Regions from separate parts of the Homo sapiens genome. Here regions 1, 2, 3, 4, 6 and 7 are each linked to region 5. Evidence: promoter capture Hi-C in 16 types of primary human blood cells and fetal thymus (Javierre and others, 2016). All regions are on one chromosome and are shown on one strand. Each heading gives the region's core, a stretch centred on a gene start or on the middle of the fragment in contact. The rest is flanking DNA. Distances are from core to core; before and after follow the strand shown.

Evidence for each region. Contacts are between HindIII fragments. The CHiCAGO score rates a contact against its expected background, and 5 or more counts as called.
Region 1: a contact is called between a fragment that was not itself captured here and the fragment with the promoter of CAVIN2-AS1 in region 5, in 6 of 17 cell types (megakaryocytes, M1 macrophages, M0 macrophages and 3 more). The highest score is 9.0, in megakaryocytes.
Region 2: a fragment that was not itself captured here is called in contact with the fragment with the promoter of CAVIN2-AS1 in region 5 in 4 of 17 cell types (megakaryocytes, M2 macrophages, neutrophils and 1 more); the score reaches 11.2 in megakaryocytes.
Region 3: a fragment that was not itself captured here is called in contact with the fragment with the promoter of CAVIN2-AS1 in region 5 in 2 of 17 cell types (megakaryocytes and M1 macrophages); the score reaches 6.0 in megakaryocytes.
Region 4: a fragment that was not itself captured here is called in contact with the fragment with the promoter of CAVIN2-AS1 in region 5 in 4 of 17 cell types (neutrophils, M0 macrophages, megakaryocytes and 1 more); the score reaches 8.1 in neutrophils.
Region 6: a fragment that was not itself captured here is called in contact with the fragment with the promoter of CAVIN2-AS1 in region 5 in 1 of 17 cell types (neutrophils); the score reaches 6.0 in neutrophils.
Region 7: a fragment that was not itself captured here is called in contact with the fragment with the promoter of CAVIN2-AS1 in region 5 in 1 of 17 cell types (endothelial precursors); the score reaches 5.2 in endothelial precursors.

The regions. Positions count from the first base shown.
Region 1 is chr2:192,126,480-192,129,972 of GRCh38, forward strand. The region is part of intron 4 of TMEFF2 (transmembrane protein with EGF like and two follistatin like domains 2); the gene reads right to left. Among named protein-coding and RNA genes, the nearest start is that of TMEFF2, 67 kb to the right of the region's middle. The HindIII fragment of the contact is 853 bases long and covers 1,333-2,185 here.
Region 2 is chr2:192,100,876-192,104,486 of GRCh38, forward strand. The region is part of intron 4 of TMEFF2 (transmembrane protein with EGF like and two follistatin like domains 2); the gene reads right to left. Among named protein-coding and RNA genes, the nearest start is that of TMEFF2, 92 kb to the right of the region's middle. The HindIII fragment of the contact is 1,320 bases long and covers 1,415-2,734 here.
Region 3 is chr2:192,197,933-192,201,545 of GRCh38, forward strand. No RefSeq gene overlaps it. Among named protein-coding and RNA genes, the nearest start is that of TMEFF2, 4.8 kb to the left of the region's middle. The HindIII fragment of the contact is 1,057 bases long and covers 1,606-2,662 here.
Region 4 is chr2:192,178,673-192,181,926 of GRCh38, forward strand. TMEFF2 (transmembrane protein with EGF like and two follistatin like domains 2) reads right to left here. Exons shown (of 10, transcript NM_016192.4): 4 at 996-1,022. Among named protein-coding and RNA genes, the nearest start is that of TMEFF2, 15 kb to the right of the region's middle. The HindIII fragment of the contact is 6,862 bases long and covers 1-3,254 here.
Region 5 is chr2:191,844,868-191,848,060 of GRCh38, forward strand. CAVIN2-AS1 (CAVIN2 and TMEFF2 antisense RNA 1) reads left to right here and starts at 1,621. Exons shown (of 4, transcript NR_187184.1): 1 at 1,621-1,904. CAVIN2 (caveolae associated protein 2) reads right to left here and starts at 2,221. Exons shown (of 2, transcript NM_004657.6): 1 at 1,576-2,221. The coding sequence starts at 2,058. RefSeq lists an enhancer at 1,926-2,434. The HindIII fragment of the contact is 13,325 bases long and covers 1-3,193 here.
Region 6 is chr2:191,514,022-191,517,225 of GRCh38, forward strand. It overlaps LOC107985833 (a long non-coding RNA gene), which reads left to right and starts at 2,571. Exons shown (of 3, transcript XR_001739229.1): 1 at 2,571-2,642. The HindIII fragment of the contact is 3,630 bases long and covers 29-3,204 here.
Region 7 is chr2:191,569,074-191,572,516 of GRCh38, forward strand. No RefSeq gene overlaps it. Among named protein-coding and RNA genes, the nearest start is that of NABP1, 110 kb to the right of the region's middle. The HindIII fragment of the contact is 2,593 bases long and covers 747-3,339 here.

The DNA.
Region 1 (3,493 bases), core at 509-3,008, 280 kb after region 5:
AGATGTGTAAGGGAACAATAAAACATGACAATTAAAACTGTCAGTCCCAAACTAAAGATACTGACTGTATTTTTTAGGTTTCATGTCACAACTTGACACATTCTAGACACTGCTATGGTAATTACATTTGGTATGAAGGAAGTAAGGCATACTTGCAACTAGAAAGAAGGAGAAATGACTAACACTTAGGATATTTGATGTTTTACATTCATGATCTTGTTCCCTCTGACAGTCATGTTAGGAAACTGAGGCTCAGAGAGACAGGGTAAATTCCTCAAGGTGGTAAAACCTAGGTTGGTTAAACTCCAAAACCTGTCCTTCTTCACTACGTGGAGTTGCCTTCTAACTACAAAAACAAAACAAAACAAACAAACAAACAAACAAAAGCTTGTTTTGGCTGCTGTAAAATAATGCCCTTCCTCCCACTTCAGGCAATTCAAGTATTTCAATATAGAAGTTAATTTTTGCTTTGGGTTTTAGAATTTTGTTGTTTTGCTATGTAACTTAGAACTGATATTTAATTATGTGCCAATATAAGAACAGTAAAGCACTCTTATTTAGACAGCTGTAACACTAAGTACATGAATGAGATTATTAGTGCCAAGCAACTCATCCCTCCACCAGGCTTTCTGACAGATGAGAGTCTGTGGCTCCTCCCCAAGTCATGAAAGAATCTAGTGCACTAATGACATCTGGATCACCTCTGACAATTTTTAAAAGATTCAATGATTCTCTGTCAGCAAGAAGGAAAAACTGACTTGACCTATTGTTCATCAAGGTATAATTTTGTAAATGCTCACAGAAAGCCAAATATTGACTAATAATAGAGCAAATTATACAGGGCTCATTAAATATCACAGGCCACGTAATTCATTGCTGTTTTCTGAGTGAACACTCAATGGTGTTAGAATATTTGCCCTTCTGTCTTTAAGTGTTACCCTTCCTGCCTTCTCTCCTACTTCTCTCTTCTCTAAATCCAAAATGTAAAAATTATTGCATTTGAAAAACATTCAACAAATCAACAATGTAGCTATTTTTTGTTCAAACTGGATGAGAAATCCTCTTTATTTTGGGGAAACCTCACTTGCTGGCATGGAACTATGATTTGGGGCTAACGTTGAAAAATTGTGCTTCAACACATGACAAGAACATGAGCTGACTATGTCTAAAGTCAAAAATTGAGCAACAGTACAATTATGTAACTGTTTGTTTTATGTTAACTGAAAGGCCCAATCTTTGTAGCTTAAATCTTAAATAAGTTAGTTCAATAAGTCGTGACAATTTTAAGTAATAATATTACTTTGTGTGTTATTCTTGCTATCAATGAGTCAAAGCTTAGCAGAAATCCTTAAAACTACGTAAGAAATGTTCTATCTACTCAACTTACACTATTACATTCTTCTAATCTTAATTTTAATTTTTATGTGCTACATAACTCCTCTTTGGAAACCCATTAATTTAAAGTTTTGAGATATGTAGTTCTGGGCTCTTTTGTAGCTTTTCTTAGCCCTAAGTCACACAATTCTACTGTGCAAGGTAGTGATAATTAATATTTCCAATCTTGATTTGCCATTGCAACTTTAGATTTTAGGGCACTGTAGTTTTTAGTATTTTACATAAGTTCAGCCTTTCACTCATTAAACTTAGGTCCAAATAAATTGCATCTGTCACAATTTTTTTAAAATTTGCCATTACAGATAAAGCCTACAATTTTCAAGAAGCTAAAAATGCTATTTTTGCTCAATGTCTATACATATATTTATTTTCAGTTTTTCCAAATCTACTTTTATACTATGTAAGAATTGACAGGTGAGGTAACAAATCAGCATTAGTCGAATATAAGAATATTCTTAGTTTCTAATTAGACTATTGACAAACAAAATATTGCAATAAGTCACTGTAGCCTTCAAATTTACTTTTAATATTGCCTATTACAAACATGTCTGAAATGATTTTCCTTTATAAATTCTTGCACAGATCTAACATTTTGACAAAAGAAAGGACATCTTAAAAATGAATTCCTGAATGTACGGATAGAAAATGAACATCAGAACAAGTGAAGTGTTGCCTTCTTATCGCAAGAAAAGAGTAGACAAACAGTATCTATTTTAATTCTTGTGCAACTCACTTTTAATAGGAAGAAAGTGCTGGAACAGTCAGCTTTAGTAAGGCTGCAAGTTTTAGAAGCTTATCAGGTATAATATGTTAATCTTTAAAAACAGTATGATGAAGTCTGAAGCTTTCAGAGAGATGAGACACTGATAATGGGCCTGTTTAAAACAACATAACGAAAACCTTGATTGTGGGTTGCCAAGCAGCTTCCAAATGTTGAAAGAGAAAGCAGTTTCTTCAAAGGAGGCTGTTGCTCACAGAAAATGCATTTTCATTCCAAGTGCTGCAGCGGCGCATTTTGGCTTCCCCCGGGGAGGTAGCAAAACTCTCCAGTGTGTGGCACATGTGGTGCCTTTTGTGTTACTTGTGCATCTGATGTATACAACCACAGTGCACTTTTCAGTAGCCACACATTTCCTCTGGGACATGCCTGGGTGCCCCATAGGAGAGTGTTGAGCACCCAGCAATCTTAACACCCCCTGGCCTGGGGCCCCTAAATTAGGTATTCTAGCTCTGGTGCCAGTTTATGTTTCTGTGTACCTACATGGCCCAAGGCTGAAAAAATGACTAGGAATCCTGGGATCCTCGTGCAAATCTTCGAATTGGTTCCCTGAGAGTTCCTCAAGCACATATTCTGGATTGATTTTCAGTTTTTTAAAAATGTCCACTAACTATCTCATTTAAATAGCTTTTGTCATCTTGAAAATATAACCCACGGGTTATTTTATAAGAGTAGAAAGCAGTATACTCTGACACATTTTACCAGCATGTTTAATAGAAAAAAAAAAAAAGAGCAATATCCTCAGAAAAATACCTTTCTGACCATGATGTACATAGTTTTTGGGCCATCCAAGGAAAAAAGACACTCTTAGAGGGATGGGTTTTAATACTACTTTAGTTTATGTCAACCTGAAAAATTCCCCATGCAGTGGAACAAGAGTTTGAGGACCCCACATGCATTCTTACATTTCAATTCTAAGATGAATCCAGATTTCAGAAATATTAAATATGAAAATAGTGCAGCATAGAATTAAGGAAATGCCATATTTATGGTGAGGGAGTTGCTGATGTTGCTCCAGGACTTCCCAGTTTGAGGATTTGGACTAAATGTGTACATCTGTGGGAGCAAGGTCCTTTGTATATGTTTGTGTGACTAGCAAGCAAGATTGAGGCCCACAACACTGCATAATCTACAGTACATACATCATAAAACAGTCCTTTAATTTTACTTGTGGAATTATTTGTCATGCCAAGTCTTTGTTTTTAGTCATTTACATTTGTATTTCTTACCGCAGTTTTTCTAAAAACAAATTAACAAAGACGAATATTGAAATAATTCGCCTGACCCTAGCATAGGTCACTTAGCTTAATTTAACTGCAA
Region 2 (3,611 bases), core at 825-3,324, 260 kb after region 5:
TCCTTATATGAGTTCCTTTTGAATTTGCAACTTATTTGCACAAATTTTATATTACTCCTTTATGGAGACACATGAAGTTTCTTAGCTATCTGTGAGTAGAACAAAATTTTACCAGCTGTATCTCCTTCCTCTCGCTTATTATAAACTGTACTTGAGAATAATGCCACTCTGTGTTTTATGAAGAACAGAGCATTGCAAACTGGATTTCCATATCACATTATAGTTCATGGGATGTTAAGTATACCATGAAAAAGAAATTTCCCAGGACTTGGTTTACTGTGTTTCAGCAGCTTAGCTAGTGAAACAGTAGAGTTTAATTATGCAGCCTCCTCAGAGTCTGATGGGCAGCTTTCACTGCAGGGCTGGAAGAGAACAATACTGGGGTTATTACCCAAAATAATTTTACCGTGTAATTAGTTGTGTGATATTACCAAATTGAAGTCATGTGCAGAGGCAATTGAAGAATATATAGCCAAAAATGGATTAAAAAATGAAAAAAACTCTAGAGGATCATGTTATTTACAAAACAACAATATAGTTACTTTTTTCTGCAGTTTATAATTTGTGTGGTATTTGTTAACTTTTTAAAATTCATATTTTGCTATGTTTTATTTTCTCTACATGAATAAATACTCACTTTCATGCCTAATTTTGTATTCTTTCTCTTAAAATGTGATCTCAAAATCTAATAGGGCTTGAATCCTACTTTAGGTACTGTTATTTTATAAAGAACCAAAGTGAGAAACACAGCTGGCAAATGGATGAGCTGGGATAGGAACCCTGTGTTCTGATTCATTTGTACATATGTTGAATCACTAGACTGACTATGCTATGTCCCAGGCAGCATCTCATGCTATAACAAAAGACTGAAAATGCAGACTGTCTTCTCGCTTAGACATCTAGTCAGCCTGGAGAATGTACTCTCTTGTAACGAAATATTAGGCAACCTAAAGAAAATATCTGAAGGGGACAGTCAGGTCCACAAAAACAAGTATGATGTTAACTCCGGTGACGATACATGCTCTGGAATTCCTAAGTTCTGTGCTTTACAGTTTCCCTATCAATAAAATGGTGGTGATGATTATTATGTGCTGTTGGAAGAGTAAATGAGATTCTACATATAAAGCATACAGCACAATGTCTGGCACATACAAAAGCTCCATAGATGTGATTTAACTTAGTTTTGGCGTGACTAAGCTACAAAATTAGAAGGAATTAGAAAGCTAAATAATAAATAGTATGTCTGGGAGAGGTATATAAAACACTATGCACAAATTATTGAAGCTCATATACTAAGAACCTATTATCACATAAAAAAGAAAAACAAAAAAAATGAAGCCTGCATTTACTTCTCTTTCAGCTTTTAGCTAACCATTTTGCAGTGGTTAGTCCAGGAATAAAGGACATGCTTACAAGCTTATCACCAGCACACAGATCACGTATTCTTCTGTTAAAAAACCATCTCGGAGCATTTTCTTTCACTCAGAATAAAACACAAAGTCTTAACCATGGTTGTGTATAGGGTCCCACGGGTGTGCCTCAACTCCAAGCCTATTTTCCATGCTTCTCTTTCTCCTCACTCTGCTCCCCTACTCTAGCCTTCTTGCAATTCTTAAGACAGGACCTTTGCAGTTGTCCCCAGTGGTTAGAATGCTCTGCTCCTAGATATCTCCATGGCTCCCTCTCTCCTTCCCCTCCTTTTATTTTTATTTTAATATCATCTTCTCAATAATTTCTTTCTTTTCTTGTTCTTTTTTTTTTTTTTTTTTTTGAGATCGAGTCTTGCTCTGTCACCCAAGCTGGAGTGCAGTGGTATGATCTCGGCTCACCTGTCGCCAGGCTGGAGTGAGGTGGCACGATAATTTTTGTATTTTTACTAGAGACGGGGTTTCGTCGTGTTGGCCAGGCTGGTCTTGAAATCCTGACTTCAGGTGATCTGCCCACCTCAACCTCCGAAAGTATTGGAATTACAGGCGTGAGCCACCACTCCTGGCCTCAATAATGTCTTTCTTGACCATCCTATTGAAAATTGCAACCTGTAGTTGATCCCTAAAATGAAACTCATTTTTTTTTTCTATGAGCATTCCGTGGTGTGGAATACTGCATCTGGGACTACTTGAGTTTTTCCCAAAAACTTTGGGTCACTCTGGACATTAATGATGGGAATAGTGACTTCTCACTAATTCAGACTTGGAGCTGGCTGCCCAGACACTCAGAAATTAAATTCTATTCTATCAATGATACTCACTGTCCTATAACTCAGTGTTTCATCGAACGTGGTACTTCTTGATCTTCTCTTTTTCTAAAACTCTGTTTTCTGATGTTTATCCCTGCTCCCAAGGAAATTCTTTTTATGAATATCACTATCCCAAAGTGGGTACAATTGCTGTCGTATTTCCTTTCTCCACGCCCCTTTCTTAGTACCAACTGACCACTCATAAGTACTTTCACCAATGACAGGTATTAGATTTTTTCTCATATCCTGTTCACACCTCTGCTTGGATTACGGCCTGGATATGGACCTTTTAGTTTTGGATTCACCTTAAGACATCTGCCCTCTTTTGTTTCTCCTTAGAATAATTGGTCTTTGTCTTGCTTCCATTTCAGATGTACAGTAATCATTTAGTTCAACTAGGACTTGGATCTAGCCTTCCTACTTTATCTTGTTCTTTTGCTAATTAGACATTAACGAAACCTGAGTTCTGACTCAGTATCTAATTCTTTGTGTTAAGTAAGCTTACAGGAAGGTAGTCTTGTTTTCAACTCTTCAGGTAAAGAACCTAGTAGAATGCTATATGAACCGTAAATTAAGTCACATTTAGACCTTGATTACAGGGCTCTCTTGGTAAGAATCAAAGCAATGGTGGGGTCATTAGTAGAATGAGAAGGAATATGAGAAATTGTATGTCTTTGTTTTATATGCAGAGATGCCATAGCCTTGAGGTGAGGGCATGCTTGGTGTGTTTGAGAGAGTAGAGGGAAAAAGAAAGATAGTGCTACGAGATAAAATCAGAGGAATAGCAGCGGGTCTAGATCAGTATACTGCTGTGAAGTTTATTATAAGACCTTTGGCATTTACTCTGAGCAAGATGGAAAAGCCACCGGGAGTTTTGAGAGGACTAACGCTTTCCAACTTTCATTATGAAGGCACATTCTGATGGTTGTATTGAAAAGAAAGCAAAGGAAAGCAACCACTAAAGCAGGGAGAACTAAGAGACTATTTTAACAATCCAGAGAGAGAACAAGAGATAAAATGTTGATGTTGGCTTAAGGTAAAAGGGGGTAGCAGTAGGCATTTCTAAGTACGCTGAATTTATTTCATAGGTAGCTTCTGACAGGATTTGCTGACAGAAGTAGCGTTTAGAGAAAATCAGGTTGACTCCAAAGTTTTTGGCATAAACAACTGAAGAATGCTGTTATTCAGAGAAAGGGAAAGAATATGGTGGGTGAAATTTTAGGGGGCAGATCAGAGTAATTTCCACTTAGGTTAGTTTTCTTTGAGTGAATACATAACCTATCTACATAAGAGGTTTTCTTTTAATGTCTCAAGACATAGGTCAAATATTTATAACCCTGGAAACTCATTACATTGTATACTCCAGCTTAGTCTT
Region 3 (3,613 bases), core at 884-3,383, 350 kb after region 5:
TTAGATTTTTCAGTAGAAATAGTGCAGATATATTTTCTCCAGAAAACTTAAGAACATTTTTTTTTCTCATGGAAAGAACATCATTATAAAGTGTGAGATTACTCACAGCTTAAGTAGGGGGCTTGGGAGTTATTCTCCAACAAGAATAGTTTAAGATAAATAAATGAACCTGGGAAAATAAGATACACTGCCAATCAGAACTCTTATCTCCTTCATGATTTCATACTTTCTGATTGCTTCAATAAAGGTAAGATGTATCCTTTGCTTCTTAGGTGTCAGGCATTGTGCCATGTAGGATAGAACATGTTATTTTTATTTAATCTTTAAAACACCCCTATGAGACAAAGAATATTATCTCATTTTATATAAAAGGAATATGGCTTTGAAAGCATCAGGCAACTTGCCCCAAGAAACAAATCTCGTCAGTGACACTGCTGGGACTCTGTGAAATTCTGCCTGACTTCAGAGCACAAGACATAAGTCACTAATTTCTGCTGTATTGCTGCCTGTTAGCTTCTGAGAGGGGAAACTAACTGGGAACGTATCAGTTCTGTCCATGATACTTCATTTGCCCTTTCTGTGGAGCCGCAGTAAGGCCCAAACTTTAATTCTCAAACTTCGGCAATAAGATCCAGTGATTTCTGAACCTGGTTGATCATATGAATTCCTTGAGAAACTTTGAAACAATAGACAAATTCCAAGTCCCACTATCAGGGATTCAGAAAATCTGGAGTTGGGCCTTGGGATCCACATTTCAATATTCATCCTTGTTGGAGAAGTAAGGTACCACCTATACCTATATGACAAATGAAAGGATACCTCGATTTTTGCTCAGTTTTCACAGAGAGGTTTCTGAGACAGGTTAAAAGCTTTTACTCAGTGTAAAGATGAGCTGTTGTACATGTCTGTCTCTCTGTTTTTATGCATATGTTCACCAAATATGTATTAAGCTTCTAATATGTCTGACACAGTAACTTTGTGACTGTAGACAATTTCCTCATTTGTAAAATGTGAGTAATAACAATACCTGCCTCCTGGGCTTGTTCTAAAGATTAAAATAAAAATGTATGGTTTAATGGTAGTGGATTTGGGGGGATCCCCTATATAAATAAGTGAATGGAGGTATGAATAAATAAATACATAAAGATGTGTGTACTTATATTTATACACATAATTAAAAATAGTTAAAGATGTACAAATTAAAGTTAAATGTATGTGATATTGAAGTATATGTTGATTATTGATAATGAAGTACAGTATAATTTCTAACCCCACACCTTAACATCTCATACTTAATAACTCATATCTTAATTTCTAGCCTACTTAAGATACATAGATATAGATAGAATGTTCTAAATCATTATTGCCTTAGTTTTAATGTATAATATTCATATGAAAAAGTATCTATCAGTGTGTAGTAAATGTATTAGAACATTATTTATAGGTCAAATGATATTGACAATGTTTCAGAGTCGTCATCTTCATTTCTGGATAATTTTTCAAACTGAGAGTAATTAAATTTGCTATTTTTTCACCCTTTTCTACAATGGCAAATAACATATAAACAATGAGCTGTGATTTAAAGAAATAATTTTATAATGTAAAAGCTTCCCTATGCCTTATTGATTCCCATGCCCTTAATTAATTTTGGTAGTTTAAGTTTGTGATTTCAGTGCTGAGGAAAGTTTATTTCATCTTAGAGCAGTGGGGCTCAGTCATGATTTCACATCACAATCACCTGGATAATTAAAGAATACTGATGCAGAGTTCGTATTCAAAGACTTGGAATCCCTAGAAGTGACACAGAAGCATTGGTATATATATATTTTTAAAGTTTTCCTGGAGAAACACATAGCCATGATTGAGAACCACTGTCCTGGGGAAAGTGACTATTTTCTCATTACTCAAATAGCCAAGTTTCAGGAGGTAAAATACTTACATTTTTCTCCATTAAAACTTGTAAAACACATATCTCACCAAAGACTATTAAAACATCTAGCCAAAGCAATATGAACTAGTTAATGTTTGCCACTAGCTTGCCAGTAGTTAAAAAAAAAAAAAGGAAGAACTGTTATTGGAAGAGAGCTAGATTTAATAAGCAGTAGTCATCTCTATACAATCTGGTGTCTTTTTATTTATAAATTCAAGTAGGTTTCCATTGCTATTAATTTAATCATAGCCTTCTTAGGGCTTAGCCTAATGCTTTATTTCAAACTCATTTTGAAATTTATTCTCTGGAGTCAGAAACAGGAACTAGAATCAGCTTGGAATGAAACTACCTTTCATGTCTCTCTTTGGCTACTCATGGCTTCTATTGGGGGAAATTAGAAAAAGACTTAGTAAAGGTAGTTCTTTCCAATTTGTATTATTAACACCATCCAGTATTGCATATTCTGAGCATTTTACTCATTTATTTCATACCATAAGCCCCAATCATTTCTCCCTTTATTATCTGTGACATTGATTTTTTTTTTCTCCAAGTTACTTGTTAGTGGTAGAACAGACCCCCGGAGCACTAATGTTCCCAGCCGCTTTGCTGCTGCTCTTCTACCCACTTGTCGTTCTTCTAAAAAAATAAATAAAGAAAAAATAGAAAAATGGAGGGGAGGAACTTCTTTCATACAATATTTAGGAAAACTTAATATAAACATCGCTCACTTGAAGCTTCACAGTGTGCATTTACACATTAAAGGCTCTGAGGAGCCCTGCAGTGAAATCAAGCCAAAACACATCAAGCAAAACTAAACACCGGTTTAACTTTATTGACCTCAGATTTTCTAACATTATTTGATCATGAATCCCTTTTAGCAAGAAACCACTACAATAAACTATGGCAATGGATTTCCATATATTACTCCATTAGTAGCAATAGTTTAAGGAATGAATGAGCCTTTTGAAAAGTTGTGTTGCCATTTTTAGGTGCCAGGGCTGGTCATTCCCTTTGACTTGTCTTTTCACCAATGAAGTCAGCTCACAATCAGGTCTTTACATTAGTAGTGTAAATGTTCCACAATTGTATCTTCTGATGTAATGTATTCTGACATCATAAGCATTTTCGGAAAATGATTAAAATGTTAGCCTTTCCTGTACTCCACCACATTACCGCCTTTAAAAATCTTCCTTCCTTTATTTTACCTTACATAAATTCTAAACTGGATACTGTCATTTCCTTAGCAGTGATTGTAACACAGAATCAGATACAGATTGTGTCTGATAACACTACTTTCCAAAAAACTGAGTCTTATGTTGTTGAACATGTTAAAAGTGTTTAAATAGAAAATTCAAAAGATTTAAAAGAGAATTTAATTGACTTATTTACATGTCTATACTTATTTCTTTACAGTATAAATCTGGACATTTAGCCACTTGCTGATTATTATTAGAGCTTCCAATATAATGACATGGCAAGATCACATGACAGGAGCTAGGCAGCTGTTGACTATTTGAGTTGCAGTCTTTGCCTTGACATTTATAAGCATTAAAAAGCTCACTCGCTATACAGATATCTCCCATTTTTAGATGTACTAAATGTAAAATATATAATTTTACAATAATACTATATAATATATAATAAACATCTATTGTAGATAAAGCCAATCTATAAACACTTATA
Region 4 (3,254 bases), core at 271-2,770, 330 kb after region 5:
CTTTCAAGTGTTTCCTGAACTAGATAAAGGGTGCACTAAATATCTGCCACCCTGAACCCAAGGCCTTCTTTTACTTATCTTTTATCAAATTCTGTATTTAAAAACTAAAATCAACTTGGAATAGCACATTTAATTATTTTACACAACTGAAGCAAGGTCTTGAGAGAATGCTTTTATTTGTTTTGTTTTTCTTAATCTTGAAATTATATATAGGTTGTGTTTTGTTTTGCTTTGTGTGTATAAAAGTCTAATTTTGTTTGAATTTCATCGGGAAAAGTATTTGGGACATTTACAATTTAGTTTCAATCTATAGGTAAAATCTTTATTTGGTAGTAAGTACATTAGATCAAACTTTTAAAGTTTCTCTCTCTCTCTCTCTCATCTTATATACTTCCCTAAACAAAACTAAATAATGGGAACATATATCATACTTTAGTAAAAATAACTATAGATTTAATCAAGGAAGCAAAGATAATATTTTACTTTCATTGGACTTCATTTTATCTTTTTCACTTTTATGAACTAAAGTTCCTTCAGTTTCAAATTATAAATCTGATAATTAAAACCTTGGCTATATGGTAGGTTATGTATGTCTTATTAGCACCTAGTAATTGAGAGCAGTGTCATATATTTAAAAATCCAATATTTAAATGATTTCCTCATGAATTCTTTCTTCCCTGCCAAATATGCTTACATGCTTCTCTTCAGAAGTTTTTACATTATGCCTATCCATATCAAAGATAACTTACAAACAAACAAACAAACAAATGAACAAGGAAGGTTAACTGGAGATAGAGTATGATTCATAAGTATGCCAAATAATTTGCACGGTATATACATGTACTTAATATGGTGACAATTTTTTATGGTTTCACCTTTCCTAAAATGCAAAATATGAAATTTGTCTTAAATATCTGAAATGGAACATACATAAGTAAATATACATAATAATATCCACCAGTAAATCTTCAAATATGTAAAAAGGCAACTCCTACCTCCATCTCCAGATCCTGATCCTGCATCTGTGGGGGGAAAAGTTATATTTGCTAGTAAAACATATTCAAAAATATTTATGACTTTTTAAGCTCAAGTTTATTTTCTTAGTTTAATACTGCAATAATATTGTTTGAGAAAAATACTAATATTTAATCCAAAAACGTACATTCACATCAATTTAATTTAATATCTATTAATGTAACTTCTATAATAAATTATCCATCATTTTTATTCCAGAGCTTTACGAAAACATTATTGCCCCGTTTGGAAAATTTCCTAATCTCGGCTATGAAAAATTCCTAATCTTGACAGGCTGGATTTGGTGCCATTAGCAAAATAAAGTATTAAAAATGAGATGCTTGTAACAATCAGTAAGTTTCAGAAATTAAATAGTCTAATGCGTGTGGCAAATAAACCCATAATTAAGGCTTGTATTCTTGCAAATTGCATATGAACAAAGAGAAAAGCAGTTTAAAAAGAAATATATTTTATATGGGTGTTGATATGTTTTACGAATACCACAATTGTGGATGATTCCATCTGTGTCAAATCATCCTTTGTTTTTGAAGTCAGTAGAAGACAGCTTAATTTTTGCCTTTGTGCTTAAAGTCAGATATTCACTAAATGATTCTTGCAGAAAAAATCATACTTCCTCTTCTGGATTTTTCTTTCACCACTTCTTCTCTCCCCTTCCTTCCTTTAATTACAATTGGTCAAAGTTGTCTATTTCTGGGAAGGTAGTTCCCAGAAACACACAAAATTTCAAGTTGAAATCAAAACCATTACGATTCCATCTGCTTCTGCTTCTTAAGTGTAGACATCATCTTCCTTCTGACTTTCCATTTTTGTTTGTTCACAATACATTTGGTTATGTATTTTAATGTTAATACAGGGAAATAAGATTAATATTGATATTCTCTGCCTGATGTGCCCTTATTCCACAGTGAAATCTCACCCAGGGTTCAAGACTTATACCAAATGCCACTCTTAAGAATTTACGGTCCAATTAAAATAAAACATGACTTTTACTTGTTTGCTTCCATGATACTTTATTGAGAAACACCACATAGAAAGAGGCATGGTGTTTGAAAATCCACAGAAGGCTGACAAATATGGAAGAAGGAAGGCCTTCCCAGCAGCCCTCCTGTTTGTCATGTATTGGCATTAGCAGTACCATGAAGGAGCAGTAGTTTGAACTGTCAGTCTTGTTGGAGGCCCACATTAACTAAATTTATAGGGTCTAATACTATTATATTAGAATGTCAAGTAATCAATTAACTATTAATGTGACAGGACATATGTCTTTGGATCAGCATATCTTTTCCTTAAAGGCAAGTTAATTGGTAAAATAATTTATGATAAAAATTATTCTTAGTAAATGTAGAATCAAACAAGGATTTTAATCATAAGAATTGACTGTTTAATGATAATAGACCAAGAAAGACTGATGAATTCATGTTGATATTAGAATATTCCTACCAACTAAACTGACTGTCATAAGTCACAACACCATCTCTTTTGGACAGAACAGTGCTTGGGTGCTTTTTGTATACTTTCACAGACAAAAATTTTAATTGATTGTATTTGCATTAATTTGAAAGTTTAATTCAGTATTACTTATACTCATTCAGGGCTAAATAACAGACTGTGGTATTACAGTGATAACACATTCTAAATATATTTTAGTTAAATGTATATAGTTTCTTTTAAATTTTCCCCTATAAACTTCTTTAAGTCAAGGAAAATGTGTTGTTCATCACTCTACACTTATATGAACATAATGGGAAATGCATAAAGGCTTAGGAGTTACAAACTCCAAACCTTACTCATTGCATGACAGAGAAATGTTATTCAACCTTGCTAAGCATATTCCTCCTCTATTCAATGGGTACAGTAATATCTAACCGATTGGGCTATTTTGAGGCTTACTGCACAGTAGCATATATTAAATGCTTAAGCACTGTCAGGAACATAATAATTAAAATGTACAGTAAACATCTTGCCTATTCATCTACGAGTATTCTAATAAATACATATGACTGGGGAAAATCAGAAAAAAATGCCAATAGCATTTTAGCTTGTATTTCCCACATGCATTTCTAAAACTTCAAGGGGCATGGTCCTTAAGACAATATTTGATTTGACACAAATGAAACAGCCAGGAAAAAAAAGAAGGAATAGTTTAGAAAAATGATCACTTAAGTCCATGGCATCATTATGAAATCATTATGGGAGGCTTTAATGATTTTCCTTTATTA
Region 5 (3,193 bases), core at 371-2,870:
ATACTTTTTTCCTCCTCCTTAACTGAGGGATGGGACAAGAGATAATTTGCCTGATTCATACTGGAAGCAGGAAAATTTCCTTTGGTGTCTCAGACTTAAACAGGTCTGTACATGTTTGGTTTTGTTTGGAGATCAGTATTTAATTTAGAAATGGCTTGAGAGCTGAGATTTCTAATATCTCTTAGGCTAATAAAGTAAGGATCTCATATGGCTTAAGAAAGGCCCAGTTACAGTATCTCTTTTCAATTCATCTGGTGCATGAAAAGCTACTGCATTTGCATTAAAAGCTGAAAAGTTTTCAGCTGCAAAAGCCTGCAAGGTAGAGGAGGACATAGGCTCCCTAAACCTTTACAATATTCAAGTGCAATTTGAGGAGGACAAAAAAGCAGCGAGATGAGTCTTTCCTTTTATGGGGGTAGGAAGGCTTCTAACTTGGCAGAGCAGATTCATTTTGAAAAAGAAGACTCCCTCGGTTTAAATCCCAATTTCTAAATCTCTCTTGGGAGATGAAGGCTTTCCCTGTGTGCCTTTCACAATCAAACTGTTGGTTATAGCCTCTCCCCTCCATGGCTTTGAAATCCTCTCCTATTCATATGGTCACAACGAGACAGCCCTGGAGCGAGGATGGCAATCGCTTCCTGGGCTCTGTGCTGGCTGGATTCCACTGGGCGGAAGGGCTTCCAGCATTAGGCAGGGCTGCCCTGGGATTCACAAATGCCCACCACTTGGCGGAACAAGAGCCCCACGCAATCTCCCTGTCCCCAGATAGCCTCTTGCTACATTAATTGCATCATTGATGCATTAAAAAAAATTAAGTGGCCTTTTTATTCTAAGGCAACCGTTTGAAGGAGAAACATTTAAGACTAGCCTTTGTGACTATAACTGATAACACTCCTTTTATTTTACTTAACAGTTGTGGTCTCTCTGAACAAGGAGAGGCACGTCTAGTGTGTTTGTACTCTCTTTTTCTAGTGCATTTGCTAGAAAAGAACTCCACAAGATTGCTTTGCCCCAAAAAAGTCTTAAAAGAACAAGGCTAACTCTAATGGAATCAATCCTCTATTTGATTGGTCCCCAAAACGTTGATAGCCTTTGTATAAAGGGATAGTTTGACTTTTTGGTTAAAAAAACCACAAAATACCTCACATGATCACTTCATTTCCACTAAGAGTTAATGAACAGCCACTGAATTAATTTGCCCTGTCCAGCTAACAGCTGCAGCCAGAGCCCTAAGCTCCTAATGCAAAGAGACAAATGAATTTGACTAGGGTGCACGCACCTGCACATCTTCCCAACCTGTACAGAGTGCATCCAGGTGCTCCCTGACAAATGACCCGGGGCCTACTAAGCCCGGGGACATCTTCTTTGGATTAGTCTGTAGTGACCTGGGAAATTCCCACCCCTGTGTGAAGATTTCACATTTGCTTTCCGCAGGCAGACAGGGGACAGTGCCTTGTATGTGTGATCCCTGACAGGCAGGACAAATGTAAAAATGGCTGTGAGAGCCAGGATGAGCGAGATCAAGAATGATAAGGAGTTCCAGCCCGCCTGTAAGGAGGCATAGGGGGAACTGACCTGGAAGATGAGCACTTTGAAATGGTTGCGTCGGAGGAGCTGGGCGTGGTTGTTCTCCAGCCGCTTCACCTGTGCGCACTGCCTATCCATGCGCTCTTTGACCGCGCGCGTGTGGGCGCTGACCTTGCGGGACTTCTCCAGCAGCTTGCTCACCGTGTTGCTGGTGGAGGCCTGGTACTTGGAGAGCTTGGTGAGGTCATTCTGGATGCCCTTCACGGAGCCCTCCAAACTGATCTGTCGCTGCTCCATCTTGTGCTGGTTCTCCTGCACAGCGTCTAGCATGTTCACCAGCTTGTCCAGGAGCGTGAGCACCGTGACTGCGTTCACCTGTGAGTTGTCCCGGATGGCCTCCTCTGTGTTCCCTAGGTTCAGGCTGGGGCTTGGTGTGGAGGAAGGCATCGGGCTGGGGCTCGAGGGCTTTTCCTGCCGCATGTCAGACCCAGGGTGCTGGAACTTTTCGGCCTGTGCAGCGTCCTCTCCCATGGCTAGGCAGGTGGGAACGTTCTTTCTCTCTGGGAGCTGCTTCTTGCTCGGGTGAGAAGTTGCGGTGGTGAGGGTGTAGGATGAGGCCCGCTGGTTGGAGCTCAGGGCACCAGTCTCCAGGACTGGCAGAGGTTCAGACAGGCAACAACTGGCTACGCTGATCAGGGGAACTGCATTCCAGCTGCTCTTAAAGGCCCTACTCCACCCAGTGGGAGGAGAAGTTTACAGAACTGAGAACCATTTAGGGTTCAGACGTATGCACACACTTCCTAACCGCGTTCTGGGCACAGGACACTTTGTTGCAGGTTTAGCTTTTCTTTCCTGTTCCCCTTCCCTTTCAATGTCATATTTCAATCATGACTTCATCTAGAGGCGGAGAAAAACATGCTAACTTGGCCCAGCTCCACAGCTTCCAATTGGCTAAAGCTGGTAAACTTTTCTCTGGCTGCTATGCTGCAGATGCAACAGGGTGCCTGTTTCTTTTTCCTGGATACAAGTTATTGTAACGGAAAGTATTGTTTGCATTTGCCCTAGAACTGACTGATGGGTTGCAGAACACCGGGTGTCCTACTGGGAGGCATAGAGTTTAAAGGGTACTGCAGCCAAGTTTGTATTATTAGTTTCTCATTTGCAAAGGAATGGGACTAACTCTGATAATGATAAGGAAAACAGCTCAGTTCTTATTACTCTTGCAGTTGCAGATACAAAATAAGTTAAAAGAGATTGAACTTCAGGGATATTTAAAAAAAGTAATACTGCTGTTATGACTGTTATGTAATATATGGAAACTTTTTGAATGACCACATTTAAAAAAATGATTGTTTTTTTCAAGAAGTGAGACTGAGGAAAAATAAAATGTGGTCTTTTTAAGAACCTACCGTGATGATTTGTTTTAACTAACTTTGAGTTGGTGAGGAGAGACTTTCTCAAATGCCCATCTCTGCAAGGCATTTATTGACACGTGCCCAGAAGTGTCTGTTGGCAGGCTGAGTTGGAGTTTCTCAAGTGGTTCTAATGTTTGACATTTTAAAATTCCTGCTCAGTGAAGTGGCACACCTGTTCTCAAATGTGGCCCTCCTCAGCTGAACCTTGGGATGTGGGGCTTATTTTCCTAAAATGGCTTTACATGCTTGAG
Region 6 (3,204 bases), core at 594-3,093, 330 kb before region 5:
CAAATAAAGGAAAAGTTATTATTTAGTAAGCTTTTTGGTAATAAACAGGAACTTTTAAATTTTATTCTGTCTTTTTAAAAGACCAATTATTTAAATTTAAGAGAAGAGTATTTGAAAGGCCTTCACTTTAAAATTTACATAAGTAAAATATATACCCAAATCTGACCAATATGATAGCCAGAGGAAAACAAAACCCAAAGGCCTGCCAGGCATGGTGGCTCATGCCTGTAATTCGAGCACTTTGGGAGGCCGAGGCGGGCGGATCACCTGAGGTCAGCAGTTTGAGACCAGCCTGGCCAACAAGGTGAAACCCCATCTCCACTAAAAATACAAAAATTAGTCTGGCGTGGTGGCACATGCCTGTAGTCCCAGCTACTTGGGAGGCTGAGGCAGGAGAATCGCTTGAACCTGGGAAGTGGAGGTTGCAGTGAGCCAAGATTGCACCACTGCTCTACAGCATGGGCGAGTGAGACTTCGTCTCAAAAAAAAAAAAAAAAAAAAAAAAAAAAAGGAAAAAACCCAAAACAAACAAACAAAAACAAAATCCGAAGGTCTTTTTGCTTTAATATCTCACTTGCCCTGACCTCAAATCCCCAACATAAAATCCCTTTCTATGATGCAAATCTTCTGTCAGAAGGTGTGGACATACTGCACTAGAGTCAATCAAGCTGGGCTGCCCACATCTGAATCATGGGGTGCTTACTGAAAAACGCAGATCCTTGGGCCCCACCCAGCTCTACCGAGTCAGGACCACTATGTCTGTGTGGCCTGAGATTTGCATTTTCAGCAGAGTCAGCACTCTAAAGTGCTAATATTATACCATGAAAAATTAGGAAGGGCTAATTTATGAGTTCCCTTATAGAGGCCCCTTCAGGAAGGAGACAAAGAAGAGTTTTATAACGGGAGGGTAGGGGTGGTGGCAGGGGGCGATGGGCCTCAGGGAGAGTTCAGAGATGGAAAGGGGATCAAACATGGAAAAGATAGAAGGTGGAAGCTCTTGAAGAAAACTTCAGCGACTTAACTCCTTTGTCCAAGGCTAGACAGCCACAGAACTTCCTGGGGTGATAGAGCTCTGTACCCCACATCCCCAGGCTTTGGTGTCTCATGACACTGAACAGAACCCCAGCTACTACCTACATTAATTAACAACTGTGAGCCTCAGTTTTCCCATATGAACTGGGTATAAAGTAGAGTTTTGATGAGGATTAAAAGTAACTCAACCAGGAAGATAATTTAACATGATGGTTAAGGGTGTGGTTTTGGAGTTGGGCTTCCAGGCTTCATGTCCCAGCTCCAGCATTTACTACTTGTGTGACCTTGGCAGGTTATTTAAACTGTTTGCACCTCAGTTTCCTCATCTATTTACTGATGCTAAAAAAATTAATATATAGCCCTTTTTTATATAATAAAAAAATTAATATATAGCTAAAAAAATTAATATATAGCAGTTGGGGGGAGTAGGGGTTAAATGAGAAAATACATGTTACAAATCTGTAACAGTACCTAGCATATAATGAGCAAGTCAATAAATGTTACCACCTCTCATCATTATTTCATATATAAAGCAGCTGGCACCTGGTGGGAATTTAATAAATGATAGCTATTATTAGTAGAAATAATCACTCCTGGCTTCAAGACAGGCCAAAACCCTATTACATAATCCTGGCTGAGTCCCCATGCCTTGTTCGTAGTCTGTCATAACAGTGCCATTGAGGTTATTTGGGATAACATGTGGTTAGGACAGTTATTGTGCAGTGGTATATGCACATATAACTGAGCAGAGAGGTTTCTGAATGTTTTATGAAGGTGTGTGGGTGGAGGGGTCGAGTGCCCTGGGGAAGCTGCAGGAGCCTCTCTCCCTCCTTCTGCTTGGAGAACCTGGCAGCTGTCGCAACAGCAACAGCAGAGAGATGGACCTTTTGGAAAGTAATGGACACACTAGAAAAATATTTGAAAATCCATGACCTGTACTTATTTGATTCAAAGCCTATCATAGGAAAAGCCTATCACATTCCCTCAGGAATCTGTTGTTGTTATTTGCCTGCTCACCACAGCAAAGACTACTTCTTTTTCAAGACTTGAAACAATTATAATATATGTATATTTTTTTCTGATGGGCACTGTGTTTTAAGCTCTCTGTTCTTAAAATTTACAAATTTGTATTTGCTGCCCAGTTCTTTATTCTTTGTTGCCACATAAATCCTGCAATCTTGGTAGAAAAATAAAGAATACAGGAGAGCTGTTTGACCTTTGCTCCTTGCTGGGCATTGGTGTCATTTATAGTTATTAGAGTGGGGACAGAACGGAACTCATTGATGACTGAGCGGGTGGGGAGAGAAGGAGGAATGGCAAGCGGGGAAGGGAAAGGAGAGGGAGGAGAACACAGATTACTACAAGAATCTCATGTTGTGCTTTCACTTTGGGCAAGTATAACACTAGTAGTCCTTTGTGGGAGCTCGAAAAGGCACATGGGGGAAATAAGTCTCTGGAATAAACAGTATGACCTTGGCTGCATGGCTCTACTAACTTGGTTTTGCAGAACTGAGATAAATGGATACTAGTGAATTTGCATCAATTCCATTTAAGGCTTTAAAAAGACATATGGATAACATTATTGGCTACAGACCCTTAAGAAAACTAAGGTAAGTTCCTCTCAAGGCTCAAGCTAAGTCTTGTAGCGGGTAAAAATAGAAAGCCTTAGGCTGAAAAGCTGAAGGTCTCTATGTTACCATTGCTGAACCATTGGTTTACTGGGCAGTAGGGCTGGGGATCAATCTAAAAACCTGTCAAGCATGGTTCTTTTTAAAAATAAAACAAGGCCAGGTGCGGTGGCTCACGCCTATAATCCCAGCACTTTGGGAGGCTGAGACAGGTGGATCACTTGAGGTTAGGAGTTCAAGGCCAGCCTGGCCAACATGGTGAAACCCCATCTCACCTAAAACTACGAAAACTAACCTGGCATGGTGGTGTGCGCCTGTAATCCCAGCTACTAGGGAGGCTGAGGCAGGAGAATTGCTTGAACCCAGGCGGTGGAGGTTGCAGTGAGCCAAGATCGCACCACTGCACTCCAGCCTGGGTGACAGAGTGAGACTCCATCTAAAAATAAAATAAAAATAAATAAATAAACACATAAGTAAAACAGACAGCCTGCTTGTTCTCATGGAATACATGACAACAGTAAGCAAACGTAAAAATGCACAGCAT
Region 7 (3,443 bases), core at 793-3,292, 280 kb before region 5:
TTAACTTTCTGCCAGAGCTTCCAGTAAAGTTCTTTCAAGCCTGCAGAAAGCAGAGCTCAGAGCTCAGAAAGTGGGCTCTGTGGGAGGGGGAGAGGGGAGGATAAGAGAAGGGAGTGTATGGATACAGACTGCAATCCCAGTTTCAGCTGAGGTGGCAGTGGGGAGCTGGGAACATTATTCTGGAAGATCCTGGAGCAAGTCCTCAACTTGACTCCAGTTCGAGACTCCTCTGGGCTAGCAAGGTAATATATATGTATTTTTTTAAGAGATGGGCTCTTGCTCTGTTGCCCAGGCTGGAGTGCAGTGGAGCCCTCACAGCCCACCGCAGCCTTGAATTCTTGGGCTCAATTGATCCTCCCGCTTCAGCCTCCTGAGAAGCTGGGACTACATGTGTGTACAACCATGCCCAGCTAATTTATTTTTATTTTTGTTTTTGTTTTTTTGTAGAGATGGGGGTCTCATTCTGTTGACCAGACTGGTCTTGAACTCTTGGCTTCAAGTGAACCTCCCACCTCAGCCTCCCAAAGTGCTGGGATTACAAGCGTGAGCTACCGTGCCTGGCCTAGCAAGGTAATTTTAAACAGACACTGCCTTACCAATGATACAGCCTCAAAAGCCCTGATGCCAGCCTGAGCTGAATGTGATGAGCGTGAGGACTTATCCAGGCACTACCCACCTCTGCAACAAAACAGGGAGACAGGTGGGGAGTATCCACAATGCTGTGGATGGATTGGGCAGCAGGCAGAAGCTTCTGGCTTGTAGCTCACGCAGACCACTGCACAAGCTCTGCTCTTACAGCTTCCAAATTACTTTTCTGGCCTTTGAAGTGGAGCGATTTAGGATGCCTGCAGATCCTCCCCTGTTTAACAAATGCTCCCTGCTCTCAGTCCAGGGACCCTCACTCTTCCTGTCCTCTAACTCAGGACAGATTCCTGTCTATTATAGGTAGACAGGAAATCTTTTTGGATATCCAGGAAGATGGATATCCAAACTTCCCCAAGATCCTAGTCTATTTCCTTCCTTCCTTCCTTCCTTCCCTTTCTTTTTTCTCTTTTCTTTTCTCTTTCTTTCTTCCTTTCTTCCCTTCTTTCTTTCTTTTCCTTCCTTCCTTCCTTCCTTTTTCTTTCTTTCTTTCTCTTTCTTTCTTTCTTTCTTTCTTTCTTTCTTTCTTTCTTTCTTTCTTTCTCTTTTTCTTTCTTTCTTTCTTTCCTTCCTTCCTTCCTTCCTTCCTTCCTTCCTTCCTTCCTTCCTTCCTTCCTTCCTTCCTTCCTTCTTTCTTTTCTTTTCTTTTTCTTTTCTTTCTTTTTCAACTTTATTGGGGTAAGTGATTTATAGTAAACGGCAGAGATTTAGTGTGTGGTTTCACAAGTTTTGACATATGTGCTTACCCAGGAAACCGCCACCTCAGTCAAGATAATGAACATTTCCTTCACCCCGAAAGTTTCATAGTTGCCCCCTTTGTAAGACCTCCTTCTTTTTGCCCCATCCCCAGTCTGCTTTCTGTGACTATAGATTACTCTGCGGTTTCTAGGATTTTATGAAAATGAAATCATCTTTTCTTGTCTGATTTCTTTCACCTAGCATAAATATTTTGAGATTCATGCATGTGGCTGCATGTATCAATAATTCATTCCTTTTTACTCCTGAGGATTAATCCACTGTATGGATCCATCACAGTTTGTTAATCCATTGAGGAATCATTCCTTCTGTTTTGTTTTATAAGATCACGAAGCGTTAGATGTGTAAGGGGCATTATAGGTCACTTAATCTAAGAAAATCATCAGTTATCTGTAGTTATCTACCTACAGATTAGGTAACTGAAGCCAGAACACTACTTAAGAATTTCCCTGGAAATTGTTTAAAATTGAGATTCATACCTATTCCTGCCGTTTGATTCTGATGGTGGAGTGAATCCTGGGATTCTGCAGTTTTAGCAACAGCCTCTGGTGATTCTAATCCAGATATATGGTCTACTATACTTAAAACACCGAATTATTTAAATATTGAGGTCGTAGAAGGTTAGGAGCAAAGGCTGGATTTAAATCCACAATTTTTGATTTCTAAGTTTAGGGCTCTTTCTACTACATTATGTCAACCCCAAATAACATCAGACACATGGAAGCCTGACGCTGTCTGCTAGCGTAAATCTCTTTGTTTTCTCATCAAAGAAATGCCACAGCTCGATTCCAGGCTACATTCTTGTGTTTCCAGAAGAGGGTACTGATAACAAATCCTTTCTTTAATGCACGTATTTCTTTCTCTTACTCTCTCTCCCCACCCCCTCTCTCCTCCCTTCTTTCTTCCTCTGCTTGTTTTTGTTTTGTTTTGTTTCGTTTTGGGTTTTTTGTGGGGTTTTTTTTCTGGTCATTAAAGTTGCAAATATGAAAAGCAACAAAGTGAGACCTGGGAAAATGAGTTTACTTCAATAAAAAGCCAAAGTCCCTGGAGAAATTTCTTGACATCATTACATTTTTAATACAAACTTGCCTGTAAGTGCTGTCACTTACTGGCTTCCAGTCACTAATTTTATGAGTCAGCACTTTCCCTCAGTGACTTCCTCAAAATTATAGGAATAGGAGGGGCTGGACAGAACATGCAGAAGTAAGAATGCTGAAAATTTAACCAGAGCTGAAGAAACGTTGACCTTTAGGAACAACAATGACCAAAAATGTCATCTAGTTATCTTACTCCCTATCTCTTTCCATTGGGTAGTTAGGGAGGAAGCCATAAGCCTAACTTGGTATATATATATATATATATTTTTTTTTTTTCCCTTAAGTTATTATAATTCCAGTGACCCTTGGGCTGCCTTCCTCCAAACTCTGAAAATTTGAACTCAGGCAGTGGGGCCTGAACCCTTACTTGATACCTGGTGTCTGAGAATGTTGTTTCTAAGCAAGGATATCAAGATCATGAAAAACCAAGCAGTAACATATCAAATGAAAGAAGAGACATGAGTCCAACTCAAGCTGCCAGAAAAATTTAATTCATCTTTGATAGTTTGGGCATTTTCCTAACAATATTTTTATGACAAATTGGGTAATTCAAATGTGCTGGCTACCTTTGAAGCCCTAGAATGAAAGTGAGCTTTTGCCTCATGAGATAAAATAAGACAAGGCTTTGAGAATTCAGTCGCCCCACCCTGGGTAGAATTGTGAGAAGGCACACTGTGTCCCTAGGACCCTCAGACTCACTTCTTTGAAACCTTTTCTTTCCCCACTCTTACCAGGTATGGGGGCTCCATTGCTCTCCTCATTGGATCCTTAGTGTGAGTGACACAGAGTCTTATTATCCTATGCTGTCTACGTTTGCATTTGAACATTAATTGTGGCAATGACAAGCTTTGTCTTTGAGTCACAAGGCTTGGAAATAAGACAGAAGATTGGTAATTAGAAGTTCTAATCTGTGTTCATCTACTTATCACTTGTGGGCCCTTAGGCGAG